Regions from separate parts of the Homo sapiens genome. Here region 2 is linked to region 1. The links are contacts of gene promoters, found by promoter capture Hi-C in blood cells and fetal thymus (Javierre and others, 2016). All regions are on one chromosome and are shown on one strand. Each heading gives the region's core, a stretch centred on a gene start or on the middle of the fragment in contact. The rest is flanking DNA. Distances are from core to core; before and after follow the strand shown. Region 1 holds the start of EGR3 (early growth response 3). Region 2 overlaps PEBP4 (phosphatidylethanolamine binding protein 4).

Region 1 (2,871 bases), core at 313-2,812:
CCTCCCCGGCGATGCCCCCCACGCGCGCTGCTCCCGGGTCGCCGACCCAGAGCGCTCCGACGCTTTGTCCTCGGAGCGTAGAAGGGTGTCGCCCTCAAAGGGAGCTCTCCCTTCACCTACCCCGGCCCCAGCCTCCTCGGGCATGAAGGAGCTTTAGGCTCTTGCTGGAGGGGAAAATCCTAGCCCCAGCTAGGGAGGGTGGAGAGCGGCGGAAAACCGGCCGGTGTCTCCATGGCGGGAGAGGCCGCCCTTCCCCAGCTCCCCGGCCCCGGGATCGTTCCCCGTGGCAGGCCCTCGCCCCGCGGGTGAACCCCCTCCTTCTCCCCGCCGTCCCCACACCCCCACGGCTTTGCTGAACGCCCCGGAAAGGCAGCGTCGCAGTACCTCTCCCACCGCGGGGACTCCACGCCGCACATGGCTCCATCCCGGGTGGGAGGCTGAGGGAGTAAGGGGGGAGAGCGCGGGTGAAAAAGACGCCGGGCTCCTCCCGGGAAGAGGGCGACAGCACCACGCCTTGCGCGTAGCCCGGCGATCGGGCCCCCTGCGTGGTGAGGGAGAACCCCAGAGCCGCTCGCACCTACCTCCCTCCGGTCGGCGGCTGCCCCCACCCGGGAGAACCGAAGCCTCTACCGTGGCGTCGCCAACCTAGCCTTCTCGATCGAGGAGGGCGGGAGGAGTGGGTGGGAAAAGCAACTCGCCCCCCGCAAAATTCCCAGCGCGCCCCCATCTCTCCATCCATTTATCTATCCACCCATCCACCCATCCATCCATCCATCCATCCATCCATCCATCCATCCATCACCAGGTCGTCCCCTCCTCCTCTTCCTCTCCCCTTCCTTCCTCGCTGCCTCGCCGCCTCCCCGCCGCCCTTACCTGTAGCCATCTGATTGTAATGGACTACCGAGTCGCTGCTGCCGGAGAAGAGGTTGAGCGCGCTGGGGATCTCCTCGGGGTACAGATTGTCAGGCAGTTGGTTTAGCAAACTGCTCATGGTCACCGGCAGCTTCTCGGCGAGTTTGCCGGTCATAGCACTCCCGAGCTGCCGCCGCCGCCGCCACCGCCGCCACCGCCGCCGCTCGCTCCTAACGCAGCTTCCAGGCAAGCGGCATCCGAGAGGCGATCCGTGGTGCAGGGGAAAAGCATGCGAGAGGGAAAGTTCGGGGGGAGGGGGGAGGGAAGAAGGGAAGGGATGGGCCAGGAGAGGGGATCTTCTCTTTTTTGGGGGGCGGGAGAGGGCCCCAGGGGGTAATCCTCTTGGGTGCCTCAGCTGGTGCGGTATGAGGCTGGGTCGTGGGGGGGGTGGGGCGTGTGCGGGGGGTGGGGTGGGGGCTGGGCTGGGGGGGGATCTCGGCTCAAGGGGGTCGGACGCGGCCTCAGTATTGATCTCACAAACAGACACGCGCCCGCCGCCCCCCCGCCCCCCGATCTGCCACCGCCACCGCCACCGCCACCGCCGCCGCCGCCGCCGCCGCCGCCGCCGCCTCTGCCGCCGCTGCCGCCGCTGCTACCACCACCACCAGCCCCGCCGCTTCCTAGCAAGCTCACTGCTGCCCAAAAGCTCCCAGCCAGGGAACTCCACCAGCCTATTTATCTGAGCCCCGGGAAAGCTCCGTGACGTAGCTGCCCATATATGGACAGACAAAGCCCAGCCGAAGGGGCGCGACGTCACAATGGAAGCTCCTCACAATGGAACATTAGAAAGCAGGAAGCGGGCCGCAGCCAACGTGCGGCGCCCGCACCGCTCGCGGCTCTTGAAAAAAAGAGAAGGGGAGAAGAAACAAGAAGAATGCGAGAAGAGAGAGGAAAGAAGGATACAGCTGCATGCAAAGCGCAAAGCGCGTAGCGTGGAGTCGAAACACCAGTAACTCATTGTGTGTGTTTATTTGAGGTTTGCGTTAGGAGAGCGCATTGGGGAGAGGTGGGCGGTGGGGTGGGGTTGTTTGCAAGTGGTCTCCAACACCCCAGCAGTTAGAAAGAGAGTTGAAAACATCTGGCGAAATCCCTTTGCAGCCCGGGAACTGCTGGGGAACCCGGAAGGCGTGCGTTGCGCCCCTGCTACCTCAGCGGCTCCAGCGTTCGGGATCCTATCCGAGATTAAGAGAAAGGGAGTGCTTCCCTTTGTGGGGGGAAGGAGGGGTGCGCGCAGGGTTGGGGGGGTGTTTCAACTTGTCAGAATTCCTTGGTCCAATATCCCAAGAACTTTTGTGCCAACTTCACTCTGATTCGCCGCCCCTGCCCCTCCCTGGGCCCCTGACCCGGCGCTGACTCTAGGCTGAGCGCAGTGGCGAGGAGATTCGGAGCACCCCAGCAGTTGCGCCAAAGACAAGAGCCCCATCCATATGGGGTCGAGGATGTGCGGTTTTCGTGGTGAAGAGGAAAGAATGAAGTTGAAGGGATAGATAAACACGTGCACTGAATCCCCAGTAAATTCCCTAACGGTTCCAAGCAGCCTCTGTGGCCACAGGATGGCAGGAGGGCCCAGCAGGCCCGGGCGCAGTCGCTGTCTACTGCTGCCTGCGAAGGGCCCGCCAGAGTTCCAGAAGGAGGACGCCGAACCCACAGTCTCTGAGCCACTGGGGGCCTCCCCTAGTCTCTGCCCTCCCCCTCGCCTTCCACAGGGCTGTCCCCATTGCTGCCTGCCGGCGCTCCGCAGTCAAGGGCGGCCTGTGTGCCGACCCGGAGCGCTTTCACCTCCCGGAGCGGCAGCAGATCCCGGGGGCGGCTGCTGTGCTCCCTGGGGCCTGCTCCCGAGGCGCGCGCAGCCGGCCCGCGGGCGAGGGGGAGGAGAGGGCGGGAGCATGGGGGTGCGACCCCAAATCACATCGGCTTGGCGGGGGAGGATTCCCTCCTCGGTGGCCGCGTGGGCGCGGT
Region 2 (2,978 bases), core at 209-2,708, 64 kb after region 1:
CTCAGGCAGGAGCTGAACAGCTGGCGCCTCCTTCTGGCCTCGCAGGGCTGGAGCAGGACTGGGGAGGGCGGGCTTGTGCGAGAACCTCTGCCCCTGGGCTCCCAGGATGTGACCCTCCCTGCCAGAGACCCTTAACCCCGGACAGCCCCAGCTCAGGAGAGCTAACAGTGAGCGAGGGAGGCTGTTATGTAACCGACTGAACTCCTCGTCAACACTGGTGACTAATTCCGACAGTCTCGGCCAGTTGTGGCTGATTCTCACACCCTCTGCTGGATGCATCTCTCCGCTTCCTCCCTGGCCCTGGCCCCAGCCCCACCAACCTCCACCACTGTCCCATGCTCCTCCCCACGTGGACTGGGGATGCTTGGGGAAGCAAGCCTTTTCTAGATGCGTCCAGCCCCCAATCTTTGCATCCCTTCCTGCCTTAAAAAGATGCCAGGAGCAGATTGTCCATTTCTGTCTGTACAAAAACCCACTTGCCTGGGGGCTCATTGAGGCCCTTCTTTTGCTCCTGGGTAAGGGAGAAGAAAGTGGTTGCTGGCAGGCTGGGAATTTCGGCTTGCCAAGGCTGGGACTGTTGAGTTCGGAAATCGTGGTGGCCAAACTCCACCATTTACCAGGGGAAAGGGACCCAGGGAGTACCTGACCTCCCTCAGTCTCTGGACCTAGGACCCCTGGCCCTGTGGGTCGCAGGTTCCCTGGATGATGCTGGGGAAAAGGCCTGTGTTCATTGCCTCAGTTCTAATTTTTCTTTTTCAAAAGGAAGCTCTCAGAACGCCCAGCTATCCCCACTGCAGAAGGCTCTCCCTGAAAGGGCACAGGTGGAGGACGTTTGCATTTATCTGGAGACAGTTCATGGAGAAACACAAAGAGGTGTCCTGACAAGACAACAGGTCCACAGCAGTCGTCATCATGAGTGCTCACCATATGCCAGGGTTCATCTTTTAAAATCCTTAACCAAACAACCAAACTGTGGTTGGGATTATTCTCTTTTTATAGGTGAGAAAACTGAGGCTGAAAGCCATTGGGTGGTTTGCCAAAGCTGAGAAGTAGCTGAGCTGGGGTTTGTACTCACACCACGGTGACTCGGAGGCCCAAGCCAGTTCTGACACACTGCCTTCCCATGACATTCCCACGACAGGTTCCCGAGGTCGTTGGAATGCTTACACATTTCAGCAACTTCATGGCAACTGCCCAGCTCGACCCAGAAGATAATACTACCTTGTACTCCCCCTGCCGCTTCCTTCCTCCAGGCAGCTCACAGACATGACCTCATTCCCTCTCCCAGAGTCCCATAGGGGTGAAGGACAGGGTGGGGATCGTTAACTCTGCTTCCTAGGGAGGAAAGGGAGGCCCAGAGAGGGATGCTGGCCCACCCTGGGTCATCCAGCCAGCTAGCGGGAGAGCTGCAACTGGAAATCAGGCTTCCCTGCCCTCGGGGACAGTTATTTAGCCTCCTGGATGTGAGCTAGAATCACCCCTAAGATGCAGCAATTGGGGTACTCCTCTTGGGGTACTGGGACTCAGTGGCTGAAACAGCTCCAAGAGAGTTGGGCCTGTGCTGAAAACAGAAATCCGAGATGCATATAAATTCAATCCGTATGAGAAGAGCAGGGTGGCCTGGGAGGAGTGGTCACCGCAGTGGCTCCACCTCCTACCCGGCCACCTGCAGCCCTGCCTGGGCTGCTCTTGGTCTCTCTGTGCCCAGCTTCCCTGGCCGGATGCCCTGGGGGCCAGAGCAGCCGCAGGTGCGATGAAAAGAACACTGGCCTTGAGGTCATGGGACCTGGGGAGGATATTCACCAGGGGCCCCTAAGTTAGTCATTTTAGCTCTCAGCTTTTCCATTTTTCATTCAAAAAATGGGGACTCTAACTCCATGAAAGAGACATTGTGTGTGAAATATTTCATCATAAGCTGTGAAGCCTGCAAAGAAACTCCTGGTGTTCTCTGTAGCCTGATTTCATCTCTACTAAACGCTATTTTGAAAATGATTTTGAAGCTGGTGGGTCACATAGAAGGATGGCCTGAGCATCCATCCATCTTCCCTCCGGTGACCCTTTCACTTCGTGTCTGTGGTACCCAGTGCCTGGTACTGAATGTTCCTGGGTGGCCCCGTGGTTCGGCAAACTTTCTGGAAAGGCCCAGGTAGTAAATATTTGAGGCCTGGTGGGCCACATATGGTTTTGGTCACATGTTCTTTGTTTGTTTCTTTTCTTATAACCCTTTGAAAATGCAAAAACCTTTCTCAGCTCACAGGCCCTACAAAAATAGGTTGATTTGGCCTGTGGGCTGTCGTTTGCAGGGGGCCGGTTTACCTGGTAGAAAGTGGGTGGGTGGGAGTTTGGAAATGGACAGAAAAGCCCGCAGCCCAGTTTTGCACTTGCCTGGCTGTATGCTGTTAGGCCACTCACTTGGCCTGCCCCGGAGTTAGTTTAATGGTCTGCCCTATGATTCTAATGATGCCTACTTCAGGGGCTATCATGAGAATAACATGTACCCCATAGCAGGCTCTCAGCAGATGGGAGCTGATGTCATTGCTTCTGTCCAACAAGCATGAGAATGCAGGGTCCAGGGGTGGCCCACCCTGTCCGCAGTATGGTGGGGTGGACAGCGCTTTCCTAGGGCTTGGGATATTTTATCAGGGAGCCAATGCCTTGCCTTGGAAGGGAGAGGCCCCCAGGCTGGGGTTTCATGACAGAAAGAGGAGTGAAGTCCGGGGCTTATGTCAGGAGCTGGTCAGTGCACACTGGCAGAGCATGGAGAAGTGGAAGCCAGGGGAGGGGAGGACCATCTGCAGGGAGGGGGCGAGGGTGGGAGGAGGGCCATGGGAAACAGCTGTTTACCTGTTTTGGGCAGCTGTGATGGGCTCTGCTGGCCTTGGGGGAGTGATCCCAGGTGGCTAGAGTGGCCACAGCAGTCTGGTGGGCTCAGGGAAAGGTGGGGGTAGACGTGAGGCGCTGCAGACCTGGGCCCCAAC

The links. Contacts are between HindIII fragments. The CHiCAGO score rates a contact against its expected background, and 5 or more counts as called.
Region 2: a contact is called between a fragment that was not itself captured here and the fragment with the promoter of EGR3 in region 1, in 1 of 17 cell types (M0 macrophages). The highest score is 5.8, in M0 macrophages.

The regions. Positions count from the first base shown.
Region 1 is chr8:22,691,918-22,694,788 of GRCh38, forward strand. EGR3 (early growth response 3) reads right to left here and starts at 1,563. Exons shown (of 2, transcript NM_004430.3): 1 at 874-1,563. The coding sequence starts at 1,027. RefSeq lists silencers at 1-182, 593-662, 1,525-1,644, 1,589-1,752, 2,635-2,854 and enhancers at 1,797-2,442, 2,275-2,384, 2,425-2,524. The HindIII fragment of the contact is 8,376 bases long and covers 1-2,871 here.
Region 2 is chr8:22,756,202-22,759,179 of GRCh38, forward strand. All of the region lies in intron 4 of PEBP4 (phosphatidylethanolamine binding protein 4), which reads right to left. It overlaps LOC107986925 (a long non-coding RNA gene), which reads left to right. Exons shown (of 3, transcript XR_007060852.1): 3 at 763-2,191. Among named protein-coding and RNA genes, the nearest start is that of EGR3, 64 kb to the left of the region's middle. The HindIII fragment of the contact is 4,907 bases long and covers 1-2,978 here.